Linked DNA regions of Homo sapiens: regions 2, 3 and 4 are each linked to region 1. The links are contacts of gene promoters, found by promoter capture Hi-C in blood cells and fetal thymus (Javierre and others, 2016). All regions are on one chromosome and are shown on one strand. Each heading gives the region's core, a stretch centred on a gene start or on the middle of the fragment in contact. The rest is flanking DNA. Distances are from core to core; before and after follow the strand shown.

Evidence for each region. Contacts are between HindIII fragments. The CHiCAGO score rates a contact against its expected background, and 5 or more counts as called.
Region 2: a contact is called between a fragment that was not itself captured here and the fragment with the promoter of PGAM2 in region 1, in 4 of 17 cell types (endothelial precursors, M1 macrophages, M0 macrophages and 1 more). The highest score is 10.4, in endothelial precursors.
Region 3: a contact is called between a fragment that was not itself captured here and the fragment with the promoter of PGAM2 in region 1, in 7 of 17 cell types (M2 macrophages, total B cells, M0 macrophages and 4 more). The highest score is 7.9, in M2 macrophages.
Region 4: a fragment that was not itself captured here is called in contact with the fragment with the promoter of PGAM2 in region 1 in 1 of 17 cell types (M1 macrophages); the score reaches 6.6 in M1 macrophages.

The regions. Positions count from the first base shown.
Region 1 is chr7:44,064,068-44,066,909 of GRCh38, forward strand. It overlaps PGAM2 (phosphoglycerate mutase 2), which reads right to left and starts at 1,500. Exons shown (of 3, transcript NM_000290.4): 1 at 1,049-1,500; 2 at 765-945. The coding sequence starts at 1,462. DBNL (drebrin like) reads left to right here. Exons shown (of 13, transcript NM_001014436.3): 13 at 1-2,842. RefSeq lists enhancers at 83-192, 837-896, 1,087-1,136, 1,197-1,266 and a silencer at 2,447-2,516. The HindIII fragment of the contact is 4,752 bases long and covers 23-2,842 here.
Region 2 is chr7:44,565,602-44,568,443 of GRCh38, forward strand. DDX56 (DEAD-box helicase 56) reads right to left here. Exons shown (of 14, transcript NM_019082.4): 12 at 2,517-2,622; 13 at 847-923; 14 at 203-478. The coding sequence ends at 401. Among named protein-coding and RNA genes, the nearest start is that of DDX56, 6.9 kb to the right of the region's middle. RefSeq lists a silencer at 1-209 and an enhancer at 63-562. The HindIII fragment of the contact is 3,764 bases long and covers 1-2,842 here.
Region 3 is chr7:44,477,751-44,480,592 of GRCh38, forward strand. All of the region lies in intron 2 of NUDCD3 (NudC domain containing 3), which reads right to left. Among named protein-coding and RNA genes, the nearest start is that of NUDCD3, 11 kb to the right of the region's middle. The HindIII fragment of the contact is 6,664 bases long and covers 1-2,842 here.
Region 4 is chr7:44,415,718-44,418,559 of GRCh38, forward strand. The region is part of intron 3 of NUDCD3 (NudC domain containing 3); the gene reads right to left. Among named protein-coding and RNA genes, the nearest start is that of NUDCD3, 74 kb to the right of the region's middle. The HindIII fragment of the contact is 3,443 bases long and covers 1-2,842 here.

The sequences.
Region 1 (2,842 bases), core at 250-2,749:
CTAGCCTTTCCAGGACTCAACAAGCTTTAAGGTCATTCAGATGCTAATTTAGACTGCCCTTGTGTCAGAATACTAAGGTGGGAGGCGGAGCGGAGGTGCCAGTCACTCTGGGCGAGGCCTTACTGCGCCCATGCATCCCGGGCCCATTTGTCAGCCCTTGCTCTTCAGTGGGAGCCCAGCTGCAAGCCCAGAGTCTGGCCACTCCATAGTCCTGCACCCCTCTTTTGATTGGTCTTTCCTTTGCCCAGAGAGGGGCTCCAGAGGGAGATAGGTGGTGAAGCTCATGCAGGGATTCTGAGGACCTGATGGGGGAGGGCCCTGCGAGGGGTCCAAGCCTACATCAAGAGGAATTCAGTACCAGGGGGAGCTCCCCACCACCCCGGAAAAGGGAGAGGCCCAGAGATGGAGGTGGCTTGTCCAGGGCCCCACAGTAAGTTGGGATTTGGAGCCAGATGCTCTAAGCCCAGCCCTTCCGTTTCCTAGCTGGGTGTCCCTTGGCAGATGCCACCTTTGGAGCCTGCCCCACCTCGGGACACAGCGAGCTTCGAGTGCAGTCAGCCCCTGTGGAGTGTGTCCCAGTTACACAGAAATGGGGAAAATTTCACAAAACTAAAAAATGGCTTCTCAGCCCTCCTTTTTCAGTGAATGATGTGGAGCCCCACGCCTAGAAAGCCTGGTCCATGGGCGAGAGACTTTGCTGAGATGAGAAGCCAGCTGGGGCTGCTGCCCACCCACCCTGCCCAGGCTCCTGAAGGTGGCCTCACCTTCCAGGTGCTTGACAATGCCCCGCAGGCTGTTCCCGTGGGCTGCAATGAGCACTCGCTTGCCGGCCTTGATCTGGGGAACAATCTCCTCGTTCCAGAAGGGCAGGGCCCGGGCAATGGTGTCCTTGAGGCTCTCGCAGGTGGGGAGTTCCCCGGGCTTCAGGCCTGCGTACCGACGCTCCTGGGGGACACAGGCACGCTGCTTTCCCTCCCAAGCCAGTGGGCCCCCACCCGACTCCCCACTCTGCAGCTTCCCAGAGGCCTTCCCAGCAAAGGCAGCCCACCTTGCTAATGGAGTTGTAGTAGGGGTGCTTCTCGTCCATCGGGGGCGGCGGGATGTCGAAGGAGCGCCTCCAGATCTTCACCTGCTCCTCCCCGTGCTTGGCGGCCGTTTCTGCCTTGTTGAGGCCTGTGAGGCCCCCGTAATGCCGCTCATTGAGGCGCCAAGTGCGCACCACAGGCAGCCACATCTGGTCCGTGCCGTCCAGGATGGCCCAGAGGGTGCGGATGGCCCGCTTCAGCACTGACGTGTAGCAGATGTCAAACTCCATCTTGGCATCCTTGATGGCCTTGGCTCCCCGCTTGGCCTCCTCGGTCCCCTTTTCACTCAGCTCTGCATCGAACCAGCCACAGAAACGGTTCTCCTGGTTCCATGTGCTCTCGCCGTGCCGGACCATCACGAGGCGGTGAGTGGCCATGGTGGCAGCAGGGACCACAGAGGACTCTGGACGGGGACGGCTGCTTCCCAACACTCCCAGCTTTATAATAGTGTCTTCCCAGCCCCCACCCACCCCAGCCAACTGCCAATCAGCATTCCAGGCGGTGGCAGGTGACCAGTAGCTGAGCTGCTGGGGGCTGGGGGCCAGGGGAGTGTGCAGGCCAAGAGGCTGTGCTTAAAATAGCCCCACGCATCCACCAGCTCCTGGCCTGGGTTCAGGTGGCATGTCTATAACCAGCTGGCACCCAGAGCCCAGACTGAGTGGGGCTGCTGGTCAGGGATGGGCGTGAAGGGCAGAAGTCTGGGCCAGGGGAGATGGGGATAGCAGGGACAGAGGGGCTCTCCAGGGCAACGCTCAGTGGCCTATCAGCCATTCTCTGCTCAGACAGAGGCACAAACAAAATCCCAACCCCTTTCTCCTGTGATTGGCAGCCAGGCTAGGAGGCGGCCCTCAGCAGGCAGAGGAGGAGAGCCAGAGGAGCTGGTGCAGACCACAGCTTTGTGGAGAGGAGTCTGGCCTTGTGGAAGGTACCAGGCAGCAGCAGCAGAATGGGCAAGGGCTGGGGCTGAGCCGGGTTTCCAGGACAAAGGGGGAAAGGGCCCCTGTCTTTCCTCCGGGGTCCCTTTGTCAAGGTCTCATCCATACATGCCCCATGCTCCCACCCTATCTGCCCTCACCCAAGCCACGCTCACTCTCCTAGCCGAAACCACCTTGAAAAAGAGAAATCCAAGGGGGTTTGGGGGCAGGACTGAGGACTGTCAGAAGTCTTGATTGTTAGGTAAATGCTCAGCTTAGCAGGAACCCACAACGTAGGCTGAAGGGTGGCACGGAGTTGAGTCTAGGACCAAGACTTCTGCATTCAGGTTTGGGGGATGAGAGCCACCAAGGCAGGGAAGAGACTATGAGCAATAAAGTCACAATTGGGGCCCTAATGAAGGGGCCATGGCCAGACCCTTGGGCATGGGCCCCATCCAGGGCCTCCCATTTCCTCCCACCCCAGTGACCACACTGTCACCTGCGACACTTCTGATAACAGGAGCGGGTAGGTGAGAGGCCAGCAGAGGGACCACCACTCTGAGACTTGGATCTGAGTGTGCAAGAAACCCTCGACAGGCCTCCCTCCATCCCTGCTGGCCTACCTGGGGAGGGGCTCCTGGCTTGGGGCCTGTGAAGCTAAGGCTCTGTACCCAAAGGTTGGCAGACAAGTCCCAGTGGGCAAAGTCCTGTCGGCTGCCAGGACCCCCAAGGCTGGCAGGTGGAACCCATCCCTCCTAGCAGTGCCATGCGCAGGTCTCACTGTTCCACACTGATCCTGATTGAAGCCACATCTCCTCATCTGCTTTTGTCCCTTTGACCAAG
Region 2 (2,842 bases), core at 174-2,673, 500 kb after region 1:
GCTCTGGGCCGGCCATAGCCACCTGCCAGCAAGGGCAGGCTTCTCTTCTCATGGCTGGGGCAGCTCGGCACAGCTGACCTCTGCTGGCCAAGTGAAGCACTGCATGCAGCCACAGAGCCAGGCACAGCTGTCTTCCGAAGTTTCCCGACTCCTGATGTTTTGGGGATTCAAATAGTCCTTTTCATATGCTGGAGGCACAAACTGGGGCAGCTAAAATTTTTATTCTGTTGTCAAGGGGCAAGATGCCAGCTTGGAAGTGCCAAGGAGCTAAAGGGCCCAGCACTGCCGGCCCCAGAACTGTCTGTTCAGGCTGTGCAGTAAGCACCAGAGCCTCGCCTGTCCACGAAGGGTGTAAGCCTGTGCTCCACAATGTGCTCAGCTCCAGAGAGGCCCAACAACCTCAGGAGGGCTTGGCTGTGGGTCTGAATTTCTTTCCTTTGTGCTTGAAGCTGCGCAGTGGGTTCTGGGACTTTGCTCTCTAAGGAGGCAAAGTCACAGGTTAGTTGGGGGAATCAGGCCGACAGACAATCCACCCACCCACCCACCCAACTGAGAAAGACACAAAGGGAGCCGTGCCGGCAACTGGCCAACACGACCAGAAGGTGCTGCAGATAAGGAAATGGGGAAAGGCAGCTGGGGAAAGAAAAGCAGGGCCTGCAGGCGGCTGCAAAAGTACCCCTATCCCACACCAGATTTTTGGGGCCCGGTTCTAGGGTGCCCCCTCTTCCCCTCCCTAGGGCACCCTCTCTTCCCCTCCCTAGGGCAAGGCGCCTCCACATTCTGGTGATGACAAAAGAGCAGGTTGGGAGGAGTCCTGGGGCTGTCCGCAGTCCCCAGGAGCCGTACCTTGGCCTTCCTACAAGAGGAAGACAGCTTCTTCCGCTTCTTGTGAGGGCGCACCAGGCCACGGAGAGCAGGAGGAACTGGAAGAGATGCTTGCCTGAGCAGTGGGCTCACCGCTACTGCTCCCATCCCTGCCCTCCCGCTGATTCTGCAGCAAATTCTCCAATTCTGACCCAACTGGCAGCCTATGACATACATCTATTCACTACCACATCTGCACAGGGCCAGGAGAATGTGAGCACCTTAGACTTCCACTATTTAAATCACTCTCCTATATTGTTTAGATTTGTTACAACAAACATGTAACAAGAAAGAAAAAGACAGACATCCTTAAAGAAAGAAAATGCAGCTGAAATAAAAGTCAACAGGTAGTTTCTTCACCTGTGGCCCATTACTACCGATACAGGGGGCCCCGCATCCCAGCTGCACCTGATCTTGGCTCTATCTTCACCTCGCCCACCCCATGGACTCCCCCAGGCCAACCACACCTGGGCCCTCCCCTTCAAATGTCAAACATCCCACATCCTGACACCTTTCCACCTTCTCCTGGCCCTTCTAAACCTCCTGGCCACACCTTGGCAAATGACTCCGCTATACGAGCAGACTGGGTTCCTGAGGCCAAAGTTCTAGCCTTACCTTCTCCCTCCCTACCCACCCTCCCAACTCCCCTCCTCACATCTCAGGCCAGGACCTGGACTGGGGTCTCCTCCAGCTCACTGTCCCATGGGAACCCGGCCCCCACCGCTCTCTCTGGCATTTTCATGTTCCCATCTCTTCTGGATCCTTCCTTTCCCAGTGCCCAGGCTTTTCCTGCCCTGGAACATTCCATCTCCACCCTTTGTCACCTCCATAGCAGCAACACCACACCCGCTGGGTGGCTGCAGGTCCAGGCTGAGCAGACCCTGTGGCATTGGGAAGGGTCCTGCACTTGCTGCCCACAGCCTCCTCTCCACCACTCTCCTCCTTCAATCCATTTTAGGCATAAAAGTCACACATACTCATTACCAAAAACACCTCCTATGAGACACTGAAAGAAGTCATTACCCAGAGCCTGCCAAAGATGAGGAGAGGTGCCCAGTATTAATGGCCACATAAAGCTCTAGCCTGGGCTGCACTACAGAAACCAATCCCAGGGTCCTGACCTCATGCCTGCCAACCCCTGCATCCCTCGCACCACCACTGGCTCTTCTCTTGCTACCTTGTCGGTTTAGGCCTTACAGAGTCTGTCTCCCTGCTGACTGTTCTTACCCAGAGACTCCACAGATGCCTCTTCAGCAGCTGCTAATCTTGAGTCTTTTGCAGCACAGGTGGCTCTCTCTGCCTCCTGCCCGTGACTCTCTCCCAAACCTGTTCACTCCCTTCGACCCATGGATGGCCATTTGGCCCAGCTCTGGAGACGACCTGGCCTGAAATGCTGGGTCTGCCACCCACCCTGCACTACCTCAATTTCCTCATCTCTAAAATGGAGACAGCAACAGCTAACCCGTGGGACCAAGCAAACAAGTTTAGAAACACAGGGGTGTGCCTGTTTACATGCCCGCGTGCTGCCAGGGTCTCCAGGTTCTATTCTGCCTGAGCATCCCCAGCACCAAGCACAGGGGCTGACCCAGCAGTGGAGAAATTAATGCCACTTCCCCAGCCTGCTGCCTCCTGCCCTGTCAGGCCACACTCACCCAGGTAGTCAGGAACATGGCCCAGGTGGGGCTTCACCACTGCGGGGTGCAAAGGTAGGTCATGCCGCAGCAGCTGGAGGTCCCTAGGGTTGTCTTCAAAGTATGTCTGCCGGGGGAAGAGGGAGAGCCACAGAGTGAGCATCTTTCTTCTGTGACTTCACAGACCTAGCTTTTCAAAGGATAACACACTCATGTGTTTCAAAAGGCATGAGGCAGCTGCTTCTGTGCATTTCTCAGAACCTCCCGGGAGTGGATGTTTCCATTTTCCCTTCTCCATGACACACATGGCAGTACCCTGTACCCCTTTTTGCTGGGCATCATCTTAC
Region 3 (2,842 bases), core at 256-2,755, 410 kb after region 1:
TAGTATTACATAAACACTGAGGCTCAAATGGCACTTTTTCACTTTTTACAAAGTCTTTACTATGAACAATTCTTTTTTTTTTTTTTTTTTTTTTTTTAGATGGAGTCTCGCTCTGCTCTGTCGCCCAGGCTGGAGTGCAGTGGCACAATCTCAACTCACTGCAACCTCCACCTCCCGGGTTCATGCAATTCTGCTGCCTCAGCCTCCTGTGTAGCTGAGATTACAGGCACGCACCACCACACCTGGTTAATTTTTTGTATTTTTATAGAGACAGAGTTTCACCATGTTGGTGAGGCTTGTCTCAAACTCCTGACTTCAAATGATCAGCCGGCCTCGGCCTCTAACAGTGCTGAGATTACAGGCATGAGCCACCACACCCAGCCTGAACAACTATTAAAATTGTAAAGCATCCTTACAGAATATAAGCACATTCTCTGATGCTATCTTGTGCAAATAGGGAAATATCTGTGTGCAAATTCTCTCTCTTCTCTGAGGAATAAGATGGGTTATTTACTTTGGGCCGGGCGCGGTGGCTCACGCCTGTAATTCCAGCACTTTGGGAGACCGAGATGGGTGGATCACCCAAGGTCAGGAGTTTCAGACCAGTATGGCCAACATGGTGAAACCCTGTCTCTACTAAAAAAATACAAAAATTAGCCAGGCATGGTGGCAGGCACCTGCACTCCCAGCTACTTGCAAGGCTAAGGCAGGAGAATCGCTTGAACCTGGGAGGTGGAAGTTGCAGTAAGCCGAGATCATGCCATTGCACTCCAGCCTGGGCAACAAGAGCAAAACTCCGTCTAAAAAAAGAAAAAGATAGGTTCCTTTAAGCCCTGGGGTGGGGGCATTTCTGATCTTCATTTGACATGCCCTGGCAGCAACAGTAGGGCAGAAACAAGAATGAAATTCAGACCAATTGTAGGTTATTAGTCAGGGAGATGCTAAAATCAGAGTGATGGTAAAATTAGGTCAAAATAAAATTTCCCCCAAATCACCCCAAAAATACTATAAATGAAACCTGTACATTATTATGTATAAATAACAATGTATGCTGCAACAGCTTTAGGGCAGAACACAGGCACAAGGTTGCCAGGATCTGGGAGTCTGGCACCAATGGAAATGTCATTGTATTAGTCCATTCTCATGCTGCTATAAGGACATACCCAAGATGGGGTAATTTATAAAGAAAAGAGGTTTAATTGACTCGCAGTTCAGCATGGCTGGGGAGGCCTCAGAAAACTTACAATCATGACAGAAGGGGAAGTAAACACATCCTTCTTCACATACCAGCAGGAAGACGTGCCAAGCAAAGCGGGAAAAGTCCCTTATAAAACCGTCTATGAGAACTCACTATCACGAGAACCACATGGATATAACTGCCCCCATGATTCACTGCCTCCCACCGGGTCCCTCCCATGACATGTGAGGATTATGGGAACTGCAATTCAAGATGAGATTTGGGTGGGGACACAGCCAAACCATACTGGTCATCTATCTTGACTGTGGTGGTTACAAGACTACATTTGTCCAAAGTCATAAACTGTATTCTAAAAGGAATGAATTGTATTGTTACATAAATTATACTTTACTAAAACACAAAACAATTGTCTGTATACAGTAATGAACACCTTACAACAAAAATGCATATATAGAGGCAGGAGGAGTACTTGAGCCCAGAAGTTCGAGTTCAGCCTGAAAAACACAGCAAGATCCTGTCTCTAAAAAAATAAAATTCAAAATACATATATACAAAATATAAATACATTATTTTTAATCTTGTTTCTTTCTTTCCCAGCACTTACACTGAATTTATTTAAATTAAATAAGCATGTGATGTGACTTTACTGTAGTATACAAAAAGGGAGTTTTTGCCTAATACTGGTTAGAACCGAAAAACATGTCAAGTAAGAGTCATCAGATATCAGCAATCTAAGACTTAGATTCTCAGATTTTAGACAGAGTGCTCACAAAAGATGGTGCTTCTGTGTGGTCTTCTACAGAATAACTACCTTAAATTACTCAATTAAAAGAACTGCAGATCTATAATTTATAGGATAAACCATCCTGAACACTGGTGGGAGGACTTGGGGTGCAGCTAAAGGTAGAACAAGGAAAAGGATGGTCTTTCACATTCTATTTTCAAATCTGCTAAAACACTACATTTCAGGTATAACTAGAGATCGGTGCCACAACTTCCTGTTTTGTTCAAGGAAAACAAGTAACTGAAGCTGAGAATGTTCCAGTCCTTGGAAAGGTTTGATTAGGATTCTTGCGGTACCAGTCTATTCTGAACAAAGAGCTACCAAGTAGAAAGGTTAGCTTTCCTGAAACATATCCAAGTCTTCACTCTATACTTATTTTTAAGGTAGAACTCACAAAACTAACTCTAATTCTAACCCAGAACAAAATTCACTGGTTCAAGAATTTTAAAATAGGGTCTCTACAAAACAACAAAGTAGCTATTCTAGTCTATTACTCAGAAATCAAAACCAATACCCTCCTTTCATTTTTTAGAGATCATAAAAGGAATACAAAAAAATTAATAAAACAAAATAAATGGTCATTACAGAAAAATTAGAAAATATAGTAAGGGACAAAGATAAAAATGAAGAACACTCACAATTCCACCACTCTGTGATTACTACTACTATTTTCTTCCAGCTTTTTTTCTACATACATAATTTTTAAAGTTTTCAAATTTGATATTAGACTATATAGTTTGAATTCTCCCCTTCTCACTTAACATTATATCATGAAAATATCTGTATAAGTCAAGGTTCCACCAAAGAAACAGAAGCAGCAGATATAGTCAGCCCTCGCTATCCATGGGTTCCATAGCCCA
Region 4 (2,842 bases), core at 199-2,698, 350 kb after region 1:
CCTGTGAAGCTCTATCCACAGCCCCAACACAAACACTGGGCTGCCTAAGCAAAGCCCCTGAATCACCAACCCAGAACAGATTCTGATTTTATCAGTTGAGTTGTTGCAGCCGGGGTTACCATCGTGACAATGTCCCATAGGTGCCACAGACAAAAAACAAAAATAAACACTGCTGACAGGCAACCGTGACAGGTAGACTTAGGGAATAACTGGCCAGGCCAGAAAGAAAGTACAGCTCTGAAGAAAAACACTTAGACAAGCAAAATCCAAGAGATACAAAATAAACTTTTTCCAAAGTTTTAAGTGAGGTACGACTAAAAAAAAAATCATTCAGCAATTAAGAGACCAAGAATTTTTATTTTTACTTTATTTTATTTATTTTTTGAGATAGGGTCTTACTCTGTTGCCCAAGGTGGAGTGCAGTGGCACAATCACAGTTCGCAGAAGCCTTGACCTCCTGGGCTCAGGTAATCCTCCCACCTCTGCCTCCCAAGTAGCTAGGACTACAGCAGCGTGCCACCATCCCCAGCTAAATTTTTTTTGTGCTGTTTTGTAGAGATGGGCTTTCACCATGATGCCCAGGCTGGTCTCAAATTCCTGGGCTCAAGCAATCTGCCCACCTCAGCCTCCCAAAGTGCTGGGATTACAGGCTTGAGCCACCATGCCAAGCCAAGAATTTTTAAAAGAGGTCTGCAGTTAGGAAGTCGGAGGTTGCAGTGAGCCAAGATGGCGCCACCGCACTCTAGCCTGGGTGACACAGCGAGACTCCAAATCAAAAAAAAATAAAAAATAAAAAAAATAAGAGGTCTGCAGTGTTGTAAGAATGACATGGGGAAAAAAAATACTATTGAAGGAGAAAAAAGTTTTTCCAACCCCATAGGAGATGAAGCATGCCACCAAGGCAGGTCACCAGTACAAATTAGGTCAGCGAGCATCACAAAAGGCCTATTGTCACATAGATATACCGTGTTAATAAATAAATAAGGCAAGCCACTATTAAATAAGCCACTGAAAAAAGAAGTCCCTTCCTTCCATCCTTCTATCCTGATACTTATAACCAAACTTCACCTTCGACCCTTCTCTGAGGTGAGAGAGAGCACTAGCTCCAGAGCAAGCCTTGATTGTGACCTGGCTCTTATTGGCTGAGACCATGCACACACAGCTCTCAGTAGCCCTCATGGGTGCACAGCGACTGCCTGCATGATAGGAGGACTGGGGGGGACAACTCACTATTTCAAGACACAGAGAGGGCACCACACGAGTGCTGGTTAAATACACAAACCACCCACTTTTAGGTTCTATACGGCACCTGCCTCCATCTTGCTCATTTATTTACTGACTTTTACTGCTGTACCCCACTGGGATATAAGCTCCAAACCAGCAATCTTGTCTGTCTTGGTGACTCCCACATGCCCAGTTCCTGGGACAAAGCACAGCCCACACGTTTAGAAAACGTCTAATGTAGAATGAGCCAAATCCAGGGTTATCCTTGGTGATAGTAGAGCCACATCATCTTAGAGGTCATGATAAGTGCATTTGAGAGAGGTGTAAATCTGAACTTCAGACAAGACATCAGGGCAGGACCCTCATAACACGGTGCCGACCACAGGGAAGAATCATGGCATCAACATCCCAGATAGTCAACAAGCATATCTGAGACACCATTTCCAGTGGGGAGTTGTCCCAGGTAGCTGTGCAAAGTATGGTGAAAGCTGTTAGCTAACCTGGGTCTCTTGAGTCAAAAAAAGAGAAAATAACCAGTTTTAGCTTGGGCCTAATACAAACCCTTTCAGAGAAAGCCCCAGGGGTTCATAGAGCAGTTCAGAAGACAGATAAAGGACCAGGAAACTGTAAATTTTTTTTAGCCAAGTGAATGAAGCATGGCAATCGATGCTTTTCCTAATTTATTCAACTACATACACGGCAATACTAACAAAAAATGAAATGGAAATCAACACCTAACCCACTAAAACCCCAAAATTCTGGATAAACTACTTGGGAAGAGCTATTAGCTCCTGCTCCTGGCCTATTAAAAACAGACAGGAAGTAGTCATTTGAAAATAGAATTCCGTGTGGATGATCCCTAGTGATCTGGTCTGACTTTGATCTTAAAATTATACTGAAGTCTATGATTCTAGAGGTCACCAGTTGCTGGTAAGAGATATACTGGGGATGTGGGGTGGGAAGAAGGGAAAATTGAGCACACAGCTACTTGCTGCCGAAGCCAGGCCACCAGCAACTCACTGATCTGTGCCTGTGGTACCTTAAAGGCACAGGGCACTTGCAAAAGTCTCAGTCTTCTTAGGGATGCCATGGACCCCACCCAAACTCCTACACACAGGGCAGGTTTAGGACATGTCTACCTATTTCAAGTGGCCCCTGGAGAATGAAGGAGAGACTGCAGAGGGAGTGGTCATGGAGTCGGAAGGCACAGGACAGGAGGGCCAGAGGGACTCAGCTCCAGGCCAGCCTGGACTTCACACCTACCCAGCCGAGGCAGGAATGGGACTAAGCCTAGTCACCTTACTGTCACCATGTGGGATGCAAGGTGCAAGCCAAGTTGCCCCCACCATACAGAGAGGTTCATTTCCTATAAATGCACATGAGACGTGTTCCAGGACAGTCTCTCCTTCTAAGAAGCCAGCACCACTTGTATGTATAGAGTAAGGAGGGTGGCACAGAGGGAAAAGCATAAGGTTTAGAAGCAGACACACCTGACTCAAACCACAGCTTTGCTACTTCATTCATGCAGCTATTCATTCATTCAAAAACTTATCCAGAGTGCTCACTGTTCCAGGCATAACAACAAGGGAGATGACACTGTGGATTTTCCAAGTTAACT